Linked DNA regions of Homo sapiens: all the other regions are linked to region 1. Evidence: promoter capture Hi-C in human tissues and cell types (Jung and others, 2019). All regions are on one chromosome and are shown on one strand. The core of a region is centred on a gene start or on the middle of the fragment in contact, and the rest is flanking DNA. Distances in the headings are between cores, read along the strand shown. Region 1 holds the start of SULT2B1 (sulfotransferase family 2B member 1). Region 2 holds the start of CABP5 (calcium binding protein 5). Region 3 overlaps CARD8 (caspase recruitment domain family member 8).

Region 1 (3,128 bases), core at 327-2,826:
TCTAGGTCACACAGCAATCAGGATTGAACTGCTCCTGTCTCTGGAGTCCCAGGCACCCAGGAAGGCCTCTTCATGCCCCAGCTTCTGGCTGAGGGAGGGGAGGGGAGGGCCTGAAACAGTGGAATGAAATGAGGCGGCCAGGCGTGGTGGCCCACGCCTGTAATCCCAGCACTTTGGGAGGCCGAGGCAGGTGGATCACCTGAGGCAAGGAGTTCAAGAACAGCCTGGCCGACATGGTGAAACCCTTTCTCTACTAAAAATACAAAAATAAAATTAGCCGGGCATGGTGGCGGGCTCCTGTAATCCCAGTTACTTGGGAAGCTGAGGCTGGAGAATCACTTGAACCCAGGACGCGGAGGCTGCAGTGAGCTGATATCGTGCCATTGCACTCCAGCCTGGGCAACAAGAGCGAAACTCCATTTCAAAAAAATAAAATAAAATAAGAAAGGAATGAGGCAACTGGGCTGAGAACAGGTCTTGGTTGTCTCCCTCCTCACAGCCCACGGTGGCTGGAGGGGCCCAGGCTGCCAGGAAGGTCTCACTTGGCAAGAGTGCAAGATACGAGGGGTTGGAGATTGTCTCAGCAGTTTGCTGTGTGATCTGGGGCAGGCTGCCTGCCCTCTCTGGGCCTCTGCGCTCCCCTAAAAGATGGAGCCACGGGGAGGGGTGTAAAGGGGACATCACCAAGGCTGTGAGGAGCAGGAGAAACCACAGGCTCTGGCGTGAGACAGACCGGGTTCAGATTTGCTTCTAGCTGCGTAATTGCGGTCATGTCGCGTTCCCTCCCAGCCTCAGTTTCCCCATCTGGAAAGCAGGTACTGTCAAAGTGTCTGACTCATCCCCAGGAAGAGGGAGTCACGCTGAGCTCATGGAAGTGGGCAGTGCTCTGCCCTAACCACTGTTAGGAGACCTGAAGAGTCCAGAGCCTGCCCTCTCCGCCCCAAGTGCCCTAGAACACAGCTTCTCCCTCTGGGGGTCTCAGCAGCATCCCAGTCTCTCCCATTTCACCCCCAAGCACCCCCGTTATTTCAGGGCTTGCATGGGGTGTCCTGGGTACTACAGGCTGTTGTGTTTCCTGAGCAACTACTATGCACCAAGCTGCCTGCTCTCTTCCACTGCTCTATCAGGGAGACACAGGGCTTGTGGGCCCCTTTGACAGACAGAAAAACTGAGGCCCGGAGAGCGACAGGGACACCCCAGGCATCCCCACTGGTGACTCAACACGGTCGGGTCCTCACTCCCTTCTCAGGAGGGACCTATACACCACACTGGATGCCCCAGCCCAGCCCAGCCCCTCCAGCTAAGTCTGGGCCAGGCCTGCGGCTGCGGGTGGCTGGAGGCCACCCTTGCCACAGTCCCCGGCTCCCCCAAACAGCCACCTCCTCCCTGGGATCTCCTGGCTCCTGCCCAGGTCTGGGCCTCACCTGATTTCCGAGATGTCATCTTCATAGGTGTCCCACAAGCCCGGGATCTGGGGCTCGGCGGGCCCGTCCATGGCAGGTGGGTGAGGGTGGGGAGGGGAGGACGAGCAGGGAGCAGGCGGCACAGAGGCCAGGTGTGCGCAGCGACAGCGTCTGCCACCTGGGGAGCCCGCCAGGTGCCTACTCCGTGCCCGGCCCAAGGGGAGGGGCAGCACCCAGCCGGTTCTCCCAGCTGCTACCCACGCCTCCAACAGCGGGGAGAGGCCAGAGGGAGCCACCCTGCTCTGAGGGCGGGGAGGAGCAGTGATGGGCACGTCCTGGCGTCTGGTGCTCAGCTGGGGGCAGAGTCCAGGGGGTCAGTGCCAAGCCCACGCCAGAACCTTCCGGGCTGGCAGTTCTGGGCCTGTGGGCACCCACCTGGAGCCCACGTTGCTCATTTGGGAAATGGCGCTGATCTCGCCCATCTCAGCGAGTTCATTCATTCATTCATTCATTCACTCATTCATTCCTTTATTCATTTGAGAAATATTTACTGAGCATCTCCTGTCTGCCAGGCGCTGTTCCAAGCACTAGGCCACCGCTGGGGAAGGGGCAGACAGAAACTTGCCCTCACGGGCTGACGCGTAAGGGGCACCCTGGAAACAGACACAGGGACAGAGGCACAGCCAGGACCACGGCAGCACAGACAGGGCGGGAGCCAGGGAGAAAGGGAGAGGGCAGAGGGCATGGGAGACAGAGACCAGGAGGGGACTGAGATGCACAGGGGCCAGAGACCTTGAGAGACGCAACAGAGATACACGGAGGGCGGAGACAGAGACACACGGACACCCAGAGGAGACAGAGACACACAGGGGTCAGAGACCCTGAGAGACCCAGCAGCGATATACAGAGGGCAGAGACAGAGATACATAGAAAGGTCAGGGACAGGGAGAGACACAGATATGAGAGACAACTGCCAGATATGGTTGGGCGTGAGAGTCTGAAGGTCACAGCCCTGGTTCAAATCCCAGCTCCAGTGCCTCCCAGCTGTGGGGCCGGGAACCATCTTGCTCATAGGCTCATCTTGCCTTAGTTTCCCCATCTGTGAATGGCACCCATCGGGCTGTTGTGAGGACTGAGGGAGACACTCTCAGCTGCTGGTGGAGGATCTGGTACACAGTGAGCTCAGCATAGACGGTGTTCTCTTCTCTTCTGCCCCCACCCCAAACCCTGGCCCTCCCCAGCTGTTGGTCCCTGACCCCTCAGAGTCCTGGAGTCATGAAGCCAGTCTCCCCACCAGTGGTGGCAGGTGCCTGTAATCCCAGCTACTTGGGAGGCTGAGACACGAGAATCGCTTGAACCTGGGAGGTGGAGGTTGGAGTGAGCTGAGATCACATCACTGCACTGCAGCCTGGGCGACAGAGAGAGACTCCATCTCAAAAAAAAAAAAAAAATGCCAAAAGAAAGCCTGTGCAATGGCTCACGCCTGTAATTCCAGCACTTTGGGAGGCCGAGGCGGGTGAATCGCCTGAGGTCAGGAGTTCAAGACCAGCCTGGCCAACATAGTGAAACCCCATCTCTACTAAAAATACAAAAAATTAGCTGGGCATGGTGGCAGGTGCCTGTAATCCCAGCTATTCGGGAGGCTGAGGCAGGAGAATCACTTGAACCCTGGAGGCAGAGGTTGCAGCGAGCCAAGATTGTACTGTTGCACTCCAGCCTGGGCAA
Region 2 (3,128 bases), core at 382-2,881, 510 kb after region 1:
AGACATGGAATCAGCCAAATTTCCTAGGCACTCTGGTTCCATTTGGTGGAGAATGGTATATAGAAGTCAAGATTTGGATGCTAGTGGTGCTCATTCATATGGGCCATCATTGTTTCTATGTTCTCTTAGTGGAGAGAGCTAGAGAATATGTGTACAAATGTTCCTATACACACTGAAACTATGTGTTTATTTTTATCTCTCTATGTATAATTGAGATCCATGAGGACATACCAACGCCTCCAGTTATAGTCCAACACCACAGGGCTCATTCGACTTTCCTCCTTTCTGTCTTAGTAACTCCCTTTTCCAACAGTAGGAGACCTGGCCCCCATTCCCCTTACTCACTGTGTGTAGCCAATTTCCCTTTTCCTTTGCCATTTCACCCCTGTGGGGATGTCTTTCCCAGCCTAGTCTGGCTTCAACACCATACACCATGCTATTCCCATGAGTGGACATTTCTCTCTCTGCTTGGGTTATGACAACCCATGCCAGATCCCCTCTATGTGGCCTCCTTCCTAATTGCCTTACAGTGCAAACCTCCACCCCAGACAATGCCTGCATATAAATGCCCCCGCCCCACTCAGCTCATGTTCCAACACTGCACACCAAGCTGCCCATCTGTGGATTTATCCCCACCATCTCCAGCCCCAACACCCTGGGTCATGCTGCCCCTCTATGTGGACTTCTCCTCACCCCACTACCCCACTGGAATGCTGGCTCTCCACGCCAGATGGCCCCCAGCCCCCTCCTCCCCTAACCCTACCTAGTGTGGAGTCGCAAAACCCCTTTGGGCTTTGACACCACCATAACTTCACACCCTCCCTGACACCCCCACCTTGCTTTTTCCCTCTAAATCATTCAGGAAAGACAGAAGGAAAGAGATGAACAGAGGAAGAGCAAATGCCATGCTCTTAGTCACCGTGTACGCCCACTTCCTGAAGTCCATGCTTGCATCCTGCTCACTCTCACACATTCCCGACTCACCCAGGAAAACTCCCTGAGGCCAGGGGTGCTGAGCTCTCCATCTCACTGCCCAGAGGCCAGTGTTGGAGTGACCCTTCACATGCTTGTTGGAACATTGAATAAATGATGCCGTCTGCTCTAATCCTCCATTTTCTTTTCTTTTTTTTCTTTTTTTTTCTTTTTTTCGAGACAGGGTCTCACTATGTCAGCCAGGCTGGAGTACAATGGTGCAATCGTAGTTCACTGCAGCCTGGAGTGCAATGGTACAATCATAGCTCACTGCAGCCTTGAACTCCTGGGCTCAAGCAATCCTCCCATCTCTGCCTTTGGAGCAGCTGGGACTACAGGTGTGTGCCACCATGCACGGCTAATTTTTTTATTTTTTGTAAAGACAGCCTCTCCGTATGTTGCTCAGCTGGTCTCAAACTCCTGGGCTCAAGCAATCCTCCCACCTCAGCCTCCCAAAGCGCTGGGACTACAGACATGAGCACCACATCCAGCCTCTAATCCCCATTTATAAAATGCACTTTCCAATTCCACTCTGGGGATAAAGGCGTCACAGAACCTGACTCTGCATTTCCCCACCCATATCATTCAAGCCAGATGGGGAGGCAGGGACAGCTCTGGTCCCTCCCCAACCCGGGTAGAGATTTCCAGCCCAGCTGTCACAGCTCTAAGACACCGGGACCGAAGGAGAAGCCAAGAGAGGCAGGAAGAGGTGGCAAAGGAGTGCTGGAGAAGATAAGGAGGCTGAGCTCCGACAGGGAGCAGGGAGGAGGGGCCATCTTGAGACTGGTGCCCTGCGAGCTCCACCCCACCCCTCCATGCAGTTCCCCATGGGCCCCGCCTGCATCTTCTTGAGGAAAGGCATTGCTGAGAAACAGCGGGTGAGGTGGGGAGTGAGGGGGAAGGGCGGTGGGCGGGGCAAAGGGAGCAGGGGTGTGGGACAAAGAAGGGGACATGATGGTGCCACAGAACCAGGGGAACAGGTGGATAGAGCAGGAGCTGAGAAGGTATAAGAAATTCCAAGGACCCTGGTGGGGTCATGTAAGCCAGTGAGATAAATGGGTGGGGGTAAAATCAAAAGTCAGGAGCAAAGAGAAGGAGAGAAAAGGAAGAAAAATGAAAAGGGAAAGTGGGATGATGTCATTGTTGAGATTACCATCATTCTTTTCTATGGATGCTCATTGTGATAATGGTGGTGATGATGGTGGTGGTGGTGATGATAATGATGACGTTAATAACAATAGCTGCCACTTATTAAGTCATTGTTCTGTGCCCAGCCCTGTGCAAAGGGATTTGCACACCTGATGTTATTTACACCTCAGAACAACTCATGAGGTCAGTGACTTTCATTCCCATTTTACAGGTGAGGAAAGTGAAGCTCTGAGTCATGAAGTCATTTGCCTTAAGCTTACACAGTTAGTAAGTGGCAGGGTCGGCCAAGTATAGTGGCTCATGCCTGAATCGCAGCATCTTGGGAGGCAGAGGCGGGAGGATCACTTATGTCCAGGAGTTTGAGACCAGCCTGGGAAACACAAGACCCCATCTCTACTAAAAATACAAAAAAATAGCTCAGCATGGTGGCATGCATCTGCAGTCCCAGCTACTCAGGTGGCTGAGGCAGGAGGATCGCTTGAGCCCAGGAAGTGGAGGCTGCAGTGAGCCCTGATTATGCCACTGCACTCCAGCCTGGGCAACAAAGTGAGACTTTGTCTCGTTAAAAAAAAGTAAGTGGCAGGGTCGGGTTTGCTTGATTCCTGTGGGCATGCTTTTTAAAATTTTTTTATTTTTCCATATATACCAACTTGTCCAGATATGTGGGCATACTTTTCATTGTTAGGCTTTAAGATCACCAAAAAAAGAGAATAAAAAAGGCCAGGCAGTGGCTCACGCCTGTGATCCCAGCCCTTTGGGAGGCCAAAGCAGGTGGATCACGAGGTCAGGAGGTCAAGACCAGCCTGGCCAAGATGGTGAAACCCTGTCTCTATTAGAAATACAAAAATTAGCCGGGTGCAGTGGCAGGCGCCTGTAATCCCAGCTACTCGGGAGGCTGAGGCAGGAGAATCGCTTGAACCCGGGAGGCAGAGGTTGCAGTGAGCCGAGTTCGTGCCACTGCACTCCAGCTTGGGTGACAGAGCGAGACTGTGTCTCAAAAAAAAAAA
Region 3 (3,128 bases), core at 321-2,820, 340 kb after region 1:
CAGTGAGCTGAGATCGCACCACTGCACTCCAGCCTGGGCGACAGAGCAAGACTCTCGGTCTACAAAAAAAAAAAAAAAAAAAAAAAAAAAAAAAAAAGCTTTATAGCAGGAATGAAAGGAAGGAGGAAAGTACACTTGGAAGACGGCCGAGGGGGTGACTTGAAAGACAAGTGCACGGTTTGACCTTTTGACTTGGGGTTTAATATGTTGGCACACTTCCGGGGTCTTGCATCCCTTCTTCCCTGATTCTTCCCCTGGGGTGGGCTGGTCGCCTGCATAGTGGCCCGCAGGGGCTTGGAAGGGGAGCATGCGCAGTGTGTTTCTTGGAGTCATACGCATGCTCACTTGAGGCATTCTTCCCTTACCAGCTCAACCTCCGTAAGAGGTTATAGGCCAGTTAAACTCTGCTCTTAATGCACATTCTTGAGCCCACTGGCCCAGTTCCCGAGATCTTATTGGGAAGCTGCTGATCACCAGTTTCAGGTGTTTTCTCTCTGTCAGGAGACGGCCTTTCCCTGGTGCCGGCTGCAACCAATTATTATTTTAGAGAGACGGTGTAACAACTGCCTGACCATCACCTGATGGTTGCCTGACATTTCTGGTGGGGTGAGGAGTCCTCTCCTGCCCTGCTCATATCTGACGAGCTGCCTGCTGTAACAGCATCTCTCAGCAAGGCTCCATTCCTTCCATCCTTGTCATCTGCCAAGAATGACTGATGTCATAAATACAGACAATGAGTATGATTTAGTCCCAGAAGGGCGTGAGGACATCATGTAGACACAAAAGAGCATACAACAGCAAATTATTGGGGGTAAATATTTAATATCTTGCGTCTGGGGAACTCTAAGTTAAAGTAGTTTGATATGGCTGTGAATTAAACTGTTAGAGGGACAGAGTAAAGGTGACATGAGAAGGATAGTCAAGAGCTGGCAGTTGAAAGTCCAAGAATAAAAGTTGAAATATTTTGGACTTTAGACGGAAAGGCAAGAGTAACTATTAAAGGATGGATAACAATGTGTTGGCTCTTCAAAACAGCGTGGATGATTGAGTGTGGGTTGGGAATGAATAGGAAGTGGGGAACGGTGGGGCTGTTGTAAAAGTGAAGAGCAGATATCAGCCAAGGATCTGTTAAGGACACTGGAATTAGTATATAGCAGAGAAAAAATTATTTACATTATTTAATATAAAGAGTTGGCTGGGTGCAGTGGCTCACACTTGTAATCCCAACACTTTGGGAGGCCGAGGCAGGTGGATCACCTGAGGTCAGGAGTTTGAGACCAGCCTGGCCAACATGGTGAAACCCTGCCTCTACTAAAAATACAAAAACTAGCTGGGCGTGGTGGCACATGCCTGTGATCCCAGCTACTCGGGGGGCTGAGGCAGGAGAATCGCTTGAACCCAGGGGCGGAGATTGCAGTAAGCCGAGATCGTGCCATCGCACTCCAGCCTGGGGACAAGAGTGAGACTTTGTCTCAAAATAAATAAATAAATAAGTAAATAAATAAAATAGAGTTAACACTGAGAGGACCAAGTTTCCATCATCTAGTAAGCAATAAATCCAGGTTTGGAACTCCTTGTCTCCTGATGACTTCATGTCCACGTTAATTTTAAAAATCACCCAAGGCAGCAATCTGCAATGTCCTCTGGATCTGTGTAAAGTCTTGTGTGGCAAATGACAGAAAGTCCAACTTAAATGGAGTGAAATTATCAAGAGTGTCATGGCTCAGGCGAGTTCAAGGAAGAGATGTGGGACTGACTCCAGGGAGGCTGATTCATGGGCTCAAACAACATCACAAGGGAGGAATGTTTCTCCATGTCTTCGTCCCGCCTTCCATATTGTTGGCTTCATTGTCAGGCTCCACACAGTGTAAGTTTCCGAACTCATGTCTCAAAACAGACCACTGGGAGAAAAAAGAGAGCACCTTCTGAGATGGCAATCATGCCATTTCCTAGCTGTTGTTGCCTGGAAGGCCATTGAGGCAGATTAAATAAAAAGAAATCATGCCTCACATCTGGAGGTGCAATGAGGATCAGCTAAGGAGCTTGGTTAAGAATCAGATAAAGGTGACGTCCTAAAATAAATCAAAGAACATCTCTGTAGGTGGTGACTGCAGGCTGAGCAGCACCAACAAAAGGCTTCTACCCTTCCTAAATATAATGTTTAGGATGTGGAGCAAAATATAGCACCTGTTGCCTGCACGTTGAAATCAAAGCTTAGTAGCTCAGTCTACAGGAAGCTGGTCCAGAACATGTCTTGAGTCAAAATCACACCTCAACCTCCATGCATTCTAAACCACGTGATATGGAAGTAATATGATTTGGCCAAGTTTATACAGACATTATATGGGGCACAACGTAAACCCTGAGTCTACATGATGGAAAAAAGTCTGTATCTTTTCCCCTGTTCTTCCTTTTCTATGCATTGTATGTCTCCAGTTAAATCTCTTCTTTCATAGCTCTGCCAGCTAAGCTTTGGGGATCCAGCTGAATCCTTCTCCATACCTCTAGCATCATGCACAGTTTCTGACAATGTATGAACTAGAAGATTTGTGTTTCGTTGTTAGAGGGATTTATATATAAATGTATGTACAGCAAGATAGAGCTCTGTCTAGGATTTCAATGAAAAACACCAACTAGGAAGAAACAGGCTTCAAGAAATGGATGAGAGGAGTAGGACTGAGGAAGATACATTATTTGAGACACCTCAATGCATTTGATACTGCAAAGGGTATATTTGCTCTGTGAATGTGTGTGATTTTGTATGTCCACAAATTAAGCTACAGACACAAGGAGCAATCTCCCACCCCTGAATTTTGACTCTAAGCTTGGTATAGATCCTGAATCCTGTAAGTGAACGATTCTCAAAGTCTGAAACTCCCCCTTTCATCCAGGTGCAGCCTTTGTGAAGGAGAACCACCGGCAACTCCAAGCCAGGATGGGGGACCTGAAAGGGGTGCTCGATGATCTCCAAGACAATGAGGTTCTTACTGAGAATGAGAAGGAGCTGGTGGAGCAGGAAAAGACACGGCAGAGCAAGAATGAGGCCTTGCTGAGCATGGTGGAGAAGAAAGGGGACCTGGCCCTGGACGTGCTCTTCAGAAGCATTAGTGAAAGGGACCCTTACCTCG

Evidence for each region. The method cuts DNA at HindIII sites, captures the fragments that hold promoters and counts their contacts. A contact is called where the count stands out against the background at its distance.
Region 2: a contact is called between the fragment with the promoter of CABP5 here and the fragment with the promoter of SULT2B1 in region 1, in 1 of the 25 tissues and cell types used here (dorsolateral prefrontal cortex).
Region 3: a fragment that was not itself captured here is called in contact with the fragment with the promoter of SULT2B1 in region 1 in 1 of the 25 tissues and cell types used here (dorsolateral prefrontal cortex).

Annotation. Positions count from the first base shown.
Region 1 is chr19:48,550,620-48,553,747 of GRCh38, reverse strand. SULT2B1 (sulfotransferase family 2B member 1) reads right to left here and starts at 1,576. Exons shown (of 7, transcript NM_177973.2): 1 at 1,425-1,576. The coding sequence starts at 1,495. RefSeq lists an enhancer at 1,632-2,156. The HindIII fragment of the contact is 26,692 bases long and covers 1-3,128 here.
Region 2 is chr19:48,042,582-48,045,709 of GRCh38, reverse strand. It overlaps CABP5 (calcium binding protein 5), which reads left to right and starts at 1,631. Exons shown (of 6, transcript NM_019855.5): 1 at 1,631-1,850. The coding sequence starts at 1,788. The HindIII fragment of the contact is 5,918 bases long and covers 1-3,128 here.
Region 3 is chr19:48,211,739-48,214,866 of GRCh38, reverse strand. CARD8 (caspase recruitment domain family member 8) reads left to right here. Exons shown (of 14, transcript NM_001184900.3): 14 at 2,892-3,128. Among named protein-coding and RNA genes, the nearest start is that of CARD8-AS1, 42 kb to the left of the region's middle. The HindIII fragment of the contact is 3,277 bases long and covers 1-3,128 here.